Linked DNA regions of Homo sapiens: region 2 is linked to region 1. Evidence: promoter capture Hi-C in 16 types of primary human blood cells and fetal thymus (Javierre and others, 2016). All regions are on one chromosome and are shown on one strand. Each heading gives the region's core, a stretch centred on a gene start or on the middle of the fragment in contact. The rest is flanking DNA. Distances are from core to core; before and after follow the strand shown.

Region 1 (4,053 bases), core at 1,553-4,052:
GGCAACCTCCCAGGTTCCAGTGATCCTCCTGCCTCAGCCCCGAGTGGCCGGGACTACAGGTGTGAACACTGTGCCCAGCTAATTTATTAAATTTTGTTGTAGAGATGGGGTCTCATTATGATGCCCAGGCGGGTCTTGAATTTCTGGACTCAAGTGATCCTCCTGCCTTGGCCTCCCAAAGTCCTGGGATTATAGGGGTGAGCCCCTTTGCCCGGCCTAAATCTGGCTCTTCAGATTCCGAGAGAGAGGGTACAGGAGCCTCTCTGCTCAGCCTGAAGAACACCCAGAAGGAGGGAACCTCAAAGAGCCCCGAGATGGAAGGCTCTCCTGGCAGCGCCTCCTGCAGGGGTGCCTGTGGAACAGGCTGGCCCCAGGGCTAGGAGAGTTCATGGCCCAGTCTGCTTCACTGGGCTGCCACAGTGTGAAAGCTGGGCCTAGACCTGGCTCCTGACATCCTAGTGAGGGCTGGGACCTTAGTGGTTCTGAAAGACCTTTACTGGATGGTTCCTTCCAGAGTGGGGTATCGGATACACACACACTGCGGCCAGGCATTACGCCAGCTCCCGGATGCCTCAGCCTCGTGAATTCGGGGCAGGACGCTCAGGGCCCATGGTCAGCACAGCGGGTGGGTGGGTTCCAGCGTGGTCACTTCTCCAGGGGTGCATAATTGAGCAGCTTCTCGATCAGGTCCACGTGGGCCAGCAGCATCCGGCGGCAGCAGTAGCGCTTCAGGCCCAGGGCATCCAGCGCATCCCTGTGTCGAGGGGAGGAGCAGAGGCCAACTGAGTTCTCTACGGTCTGCAAAGGCCTGGAGCCCACATCCAACCTGCCTCTCACTGCCTGCTGGCCTCACCCCCCCCGCCACCGGCAAGGCGAACAGATTCACCCGGCTCAGAAGCTGAGATCTAGCAGTATGATCCTGGCTGGAGTAACCTGGAAATGCCCAGAACCCTGGGTGGAGCGTGAGGAGCCTCCTCTCCCACCTACTCTGGCTGTACGTGTGTGTGTATAACGTATGTAAGAAATGTAAATGAAATGAAAACGAAGTAATTGCGGGGAGCTTAGAAAACCAAGACCACCAAGGTGCTGATGTGCAGCCACCTCATCCAGCACTGGCCACGGCAGGGTAGCTCTCCAGGGGCCTGCCCTTAGCTGGTTCACCCCCACCCCAGCCAGAGCAAGCCCTGCTCTGCCGCTGTGGGGTCTTTCCTCACCTCTGCTTCCTTCCATCAGAGAGAGACTGCTTCTCCACGGAGCCACCTCTCCCACTTCCCAAGCCAATTAGAAGCTTTCATTTCCCTGGGACCTAGCTCCAGTCACCCTCAAGACCTCCAGAAAACTCCCACACCGATGGCTCCAATGTGCAGAGACACAGAAGCTTGGGAAAGGGGAGGCCACATGGGAGGCCCCTGCCGTTCCTATCCGGGGAAAGGGTCTGGACAGGCCGCCAGCCACTCAGTCTAGCAGCCCACTCGCTTTCCTCGTTTGTCCAGCAAGCTGCACCAAGTGCCGATGGCAGGCTGGCGCACACAAGCCCAGGGCTTCACATGTGACGAAGACTCAGTGGGCGAGGGTCAGACTCCAGCGGGGGCACCAAGACTCAGGCACCGTGGTGACAGCAGCACCAAGGGACAAGCACAGGAGAAAGACGCCTCCCCTACAAAGCCTGATGAGGGTGGTCAGCAAGTCTACCCTGCATTTCTTTTTCTGTGTGTGTGTGTGCGTGAGACGGAGTTTCACTCTCTCTTCCAGGCTGGAGTGCAGTGGCGTGATCTTGGCTCACTGCAACCTCCACCTGCCTCCCAGACTCAAGCGATTTTCTCGTCTCAGCCTCCCAAGTAGCTGGGACCACAGGTGTGCACCGCCATGTCCGGCGAATTAAAAAGATAGAGCCAGGCGCGGTGGCTCACGCCTGTAACCTCAGCACTTTGGGAGGTCGAGGCGGGTGGATCACCTGAGGTCAGGAGTTCCAGACCAGCCTGGCCAACATGGCGAAATCCCATCTCTACTGAAAATACAAAAATTAGCCGGGCGTGGTGGCACACGCCTGTAGTCCCAGCTACTCGGGAGGCTGAGACAGGAGAATTGCTGGAGCCCAGGAGGCGGGGGTTGCAGTGAGCCGAGATCGCGCCACTGCACTCCAACCTGGGCGACGGAGCGAGACTCCGTCTCAAAAAAGAAAAATAAAATAAAATAAATTTCTGGAGATCAGGGTCTCCCCAGGTTGTCCAGGCTGGTCTCGACCTCCTGGGCTCAAGCAAGCCTCTCGCCTCGGCCTCCCAAACTGCTGGGATTACAGATGTCAGCCGCCGCGCCCGCCCGTCCTGCAGCGAGGTTTGCAGGACATGGGGTGGGCCTGGGGGCAGAGATGGGAATAGGGCGGAGGCCAAGGGCTTTACTGCGGGTGACAAGACGCCTGCGACCCGCCAGGCCACCTAGAATCCCCAGGACACCACTGGTTTGAAGCCCAACTCCGTTCTCTTCCCCAGACTTCAGGGGATAAGGTTCTCCCGAAAGCAGATCACAGAGCGGGGCTGGAGAAGCCGGGCCTGAAGCTGCTCATGGGGCGCTGGCCTCAGGCAGCGCTGCGCCTCCCGCCCCGGCGCGCACCCCAGGGCGGACTCAGCCCCCAGCCCCGGCCCGCGCCCCACGGCGGACTCAGCCCCTAGCCCCGGCCCGCGCCTCACCCCTCGGTGTACTCGGCCTGCAGCAGCCCCAGGTAAGCCTCCCACTTGTTGCCGACGATCTTGCCACAAGTGAAGCAGCGTACAGGGATGATCATGGCGGCGGCGCGTCCCAGACTGCCCGGCCCGGCCCGGCCGCACGCGAAGAACCCCCCCAGGCCCCGCCCCGGGCGCGTCCACTGTTGCGGGAGAATCGGCTCCGCTCGTTCTCCGCTGTTCCGGCCGTCCCTCCACCGGCCCCGCCACCGCTGGCCGCAGTTTCCGCCGCGATAGGGGCTTCCCGTGCGTCCCGGGGCTCCTGGGCCTGTGCGTCCCGGGGCTCCCGGGCCCGCGCGGCCGCGGCAGCAGCAGACCGCACACCCCCGCCCACCGTCTTGGTGCATCCCGGCGCTACGGCGTCTGAGCAGGGCCGTAAAGCTGCGGCGGCGGTTCGCGTTTCTCGTGTCCGCTTGACTGACAGCTGCGCGGCGGGAGCGGGCGGCGCGAGCGGGAGGCGGCGGCGCAGGTACTGCGCCTGGGGGTTGTGGGGGCGTGCGGCCAGGGTCCCGTGGCCGGAGGTGTCCGACCGGGAGCGGCTGGAGCCGGACGCGAGCGGGGCGCGCGAGTTCGAGCCCAGAGCCGACACGCAGCAACAAGTGGGGTCCGGCGCGGGGGCTCGGGGAGAGGGCGGGCGGGGGCCGGGGCGGGTCTTCCTGCCGCCCCTCCTGGCCGCGCCGAGTAGTGGGTTCCTCCGCCTCGGCCTCTGCCCGCGGGGTGTCCGGGGCTCTCGGCGCTGAGTTCGGGGGTCCCATTCTGGACGCGGCCCAGCCCCTAGGGGCGCCGCCCTGGCCTCAGCTGCGCAATTACAGCCCCCGCCGGCAGCTCCCCGCCCCGGGCTCCTGTCCGCGTTCTTTCCGCTCTTTCCCGGGAATGGGGTCGGGGTGCGCCCTCCCGGGTCCCGGCTCTGCTGGCTGCTCGCCGTCCCGAGCTCCCGACGCTCAGACGCGCCTCTGAGCACGGGGAGAGGGGACCCGGGAGGGAGGTCGGGGAGGGAGTCGTGGAAGAGGTGCTTTTTGAGCTGAACCTGGAAGACCCCGGCACAGGGGATCCCTGGGCAGACTCCCGGAGGCTGCACTGGCAGGACCCCCTGAAGGCCTCAGCTCTGGCTTGCCCTGGAGCTCAGGGCCTACGGACGACGAGGGACGAGGAGCCCGTGTCTCTCGGATGGAGTGCGGGGGGGCTGGCACCAGCACCCTTCTTGCTGTGCCCCTGGGGTGGGGGTGAGGAAATGGGGGGTCGGTGTGCAGTGAGAGGCAAAGAAGGCTCCTTGGAGGTGCGAGGTGGGCTGTGGGGGTGGGTGGGCCGCAAAGCGGCACCCATGGGGGGCTCT
Region 2 (3,543 bases), core at 969-3,468, 210 kb after region 1:
GGGTCGGCCACGGTGTGGACCCCTCCACTTTCCTCCAGGCCTGAGGTGGGGCCCGGGCGGCCTGTCAAAGAAGAGCCCAGCCCAGACCCTCCCCAGATCCCTGGGGGAAGGAGGCCACCAGGCACCCTGCCTTCCTGCTGCCTGTCAGGGTGAATCTCAGGGGACCCTGGTGCAGGAGGGGCTGGCTCTGAGCTGGACAGGCCTCTGGGGTTGCCCTGGTGGCCTTCCCTCTCTCTGGGTCAGACGTGCCCAGGCAGGGAGGGTCCAGGCCATGACAGAGCCGGGCCAGCTGGGGACAGGGCATCCCCCAGTGCAATCCTTGTAGCGAACGGGTCCTAGAGTGCAGCTGGCGGGACACTCCCGCCATCACTGGATTTACTGCAGGTGGAGACGGGTTCTGTACCCACGTAGATGAGGAAACAGGCACAGAGAGGGGGCAGCCTGCCCAAGGTCACCGGGGAGGGAGTGGAGAGGCTGGATGCCCTTGGGCCCAGACTGCAGCCTCCCCTCCCCGATGTGCTGCGGCCCCAGTGTCCTGGGCCCCATGTGGCGCCTGAGCCCACAGGTGTCACCAAAGGTCTGAGTTGCGGGGACAAAGGCGGGGACAGGCCCGAGGTGCGGGGACAAGGGCGGGGATGGGCCTGAGGTGCAGGGACAGAGGCGGGGACAGGCAACCCCTGCGGTTCGAGGGGTAGGTGGCCACACGTCAGTCCCTGGGAGGGCCAGGCAGGAGGTGGGCCCAGCGGGGCTGGGAAATGAGGGGCCAGTGCCCCCACGCTCACTGCAGGGGATGTGAGAGGGCGAGTGGTCGCTCAGCCACACCCACACCCGTGTGTACAGGACCCACGCCCGCCCGCCTTGCTGTCCCGCCCGTGCACGGCTCACACAGCTTCTCCCATTATTCAGGCGCTGCCGGGCCCTGCAGGACTCAGATCGTCCCTGTGCCACTTGGCAGGGTCACCCTCACGCCTGCCCGGTGGCCCCACCTGCCCCACCTGCCCAGCTTCTCTCCCTTCTCAGTGCTGTCTGTCCCAGAGCCTCCCATCAATGGGGCCAGAGGGCTCTGGCCCGGCTGTGGGCTGACTGTTCTCCCCAAGATGCCTGAGAGCCACCCGGGCACCGGACTTGCCAACATGCAGGCACACGCAGGCACACACCTGGGCCACACGGCCCTGAGCACACGCCTTGCCCAGCCCTCCTCCGGGCTGTGGTGCGGGTGCCAGGTGCCACCTGCTGGCGGGCTACAGCATCACGGCTCTCGCCCTCCGGAACCTTCCATGGTGCCACACCAGCCTCTGGTCTGGCTGCAGACGGCTTGGGCTGGGCAGGGAAGCTTCCACTGTCGGGGAACCTGGGACCACAGTCTTTGCTCCAAGCGCCCTGGGCGGGTAGAGGCCAGGTCCGGTATGAGGAGCCCTGGTTCCCTGAGGTAGACAGAGCCAGGCAGACGTTGAGGAGACATGGGGGCTGTAGCCCTGGCCCCACTGCCCGACTCTCTCTCTGCATTTCGGGAGCTGGCAAGATCCAAGGGGGTCCCCAAGGCCCTGAGGCTGCACTGAGCACCCCTTTCCTGCTCATTTTCAGATGCAGCGGTGTCCTGGACCCCTGGGGAGAGGTGACCCCCCCAGCAGGAAGCTGGGCCTGGTTTCTGTCCCTCTGCAGCCACAAGGCCTGGCTAGGATGCTGGGAGCACCACACCCTGGAGACTCAGCTCACCAAGGACTCAGGGGCGGGGGCTCCCCTGGCACCTGGGAAGCTGGGCCCCCGGCCCCCTGGACTCCCACCCAGACACCATCTCAACCCAGGTCTGTCTGCTCTCCCCGTCACTGCCCTGGGTTCTCCACTCCTGGACCCGACCCTGGTCCTGGGGCAGTGTCCCAGCTGCTGTGTCCCAGGCCCCCCATCCACTGCCCTTGGCCCACCTTCTATGTGGCCCATTAGAGGGGTGTGGGGGCTGCAACCTGCTTCTGCTGAACCCCTAGGCCTGCCAGGGGGCATCAGGATTCTGCACAGAGAGGCAGGGGACCCGGCCAGACATGCAGGTACCCACGTACCTAATTCTGGGCCTTGGGGCAAGGACTGCGTATTTATCCTGGCCCAGGCAAGTCTGGGGGTGTCTGAGGGGTGGTGAGACGTCTGGGCAGATTGTCCCTGCCCTGCTCTGCTCTGCCCCACCCTGGCCAGCCCTCCTGGCTTCTCAAGGTGCTCCTGGCCACGATGGCACAGTCCCCCAGGCCCAAAATGTGCCCCCATGCTGCCCGAATGCCAGTGCGGGGGCTGGTAGCAACCAAGGCCATGCCCTCCCCTCCCCCTCCTGGGGCACCTGCCCCCACGCTGTGGCCATGGCTCCCTGGCTCCACCAGCTTCTTGTGACCCCTGAGGCTCCCCAGCTCCTGGCCCCCCATGGAGAGTTCCCTCCCCATAAGGGGGGGCCAGACACCCCCCTGTGCCCACTCCTTGGGAGACTGGCATTAGATCCTGGCTGTGGGACAGGCTGGGCCACTCTGGGGGTGAGACCAGGCTTCTCCCACCTGGGGGACCCATCCTGGCTCCGGACTTGGGCGGGTGACAGCCTGGGTTTCCTGTGTCCTCACCGCCCGCTTATCAGCAAGATGGGGATGTGGATGACAGGAGTGCTGGCCACGGAGGGCCTGGTGTGGGTGGCCGTCGGGACGAGGGTAGTGTGGGCGGCCACGGCAGTTGGTGCTACTGCTGGGAGGGGCCGAAGGTGAGGCCCTCCTGGGCTGTGGGTCCCTGTAAGCCACTGCCCCCGTGGGGTGTGCAGTCACCAAGCCGACCTGCTGCCGGGGTTCCGCCCCCTCCCTTTCCCTTCTGCTTCCCCGGCACCTGTGTCCCAAGCCTGAAGCCCTGTCCGTGTCAGAGGTGGCACCTCCCTGGGCACGGGCACTTGGACGCTGGTGCCTCCCCTGCTGCGGACCCCTTTGCTGTGGTCAGGGCCTCCTCCCTGCACTGGCCCCGCCTGTGACCGCAGGCCTGGCGGGGCCCTCAATGGCCACAGAGGGCACAGGCCGGGGCCAGGAGGGCACCGTCTCCTGGGGCACAGATATGCTGGAGTGAGCTATGGAATTGTCCATCAGCAGCGGCAAGCTTTGCTGAGCGCCAGCTGTATGCAGAGCAAAGGCGGGCCAGCCGGGAAGGGCCAGTGAGGACCTGGAGTCCCCAGCATCCCCAGGAGCCTGCACCCCTACGCGGGGGACGCCTGGGCAGCTCCTCCCTCCTCCACTCCCCGCCCTCTCCTCCCCTCCTTCCTGCAGTTCCCACAGCTGTTTGGGTGCCTCCCGTGGCGCCTGGTTGAGCTGCAGGGGGAGATGTGTGTGGACACTGCAACCCTCCCGAAGCTGGGCCTGGAAGAAATGACTTCCCCAGAACCTTATCTGGGCCGGAGAGGGGCGTTGGCAGCGGGGGTCTTGCCGCCTTCCGGTCCTCTGCATGCCAGGCACCACCTGGGGCCGGGCCAGGGCAGGCTGCCTGGACACCATGGACCTGCCCAGCTGTAGGGGAGGTGTGTCCTGCAGCCCTACC

The links. The method cuts DNA at HindIII sites, captures the fragments that hold promoters and counts their contacts. A CHiCAGO score of 5 or more calls a contact.
Region 2: a fragment that was not itself captured here is called in contact with the fragment with the promoter of POLR2L in region 1 in 8 of 17 cell types (fetal thymus, endothelial precursors, naive CD8 T cells and 5 more); the score reaches 6.8 in fetal thymus.

The regions. Positions count from the first base shown.
Region 1 is chr11:839,727-843,779 of GRCh38, forward strand. It overlaps POLR2L (RNA polymerase II, I and III subunit L), which reads right to left and starts at 2,803. Exons shown (of 2, transcript NM_021128.5): 1 at 2,688-2,803; 2 at 1-754. The coding sequence starts at 2,782. The coding sequence ends at 646. TSPAN4 (tetraspanin 4) reads left to right here and starts at 3,126. Exons shown (of 9, transcript NM_003271.5): 1 at 3,126-3,189. RefSeq lists silencers at 287-336, 2,565-3,194, 3,305-3,394, 3,415-3,644, 3,630-3,798 and enhancers at 1,062-1,806, 1,807-2,552, 2,553-3,296. The HindIII fragment of the contact is 22,784 bases long and covers 1,377-4,053 here.
Region 2 is chr11:1,050,039-1,053,581 of GRCh38, forward strand. It overlaps LOC124902605, which reads left to right. Exons shown (of 4, transcript XM_047427955.1): 3 at 1,585-1,805. LINC02688 (long intergenic non-protein coding RNA 2688) reads left to right here. Exons shown (of 4, transcript NR_160890.1): 2 at 1,585-1,805. Among named protein-coding and RNA genes, the nearest start is that of LINC02688, 1.9 kb to the left of the region's middle. The HindIII fragment of the contact is 1,775 bases long and covers 1,332-3,106 here.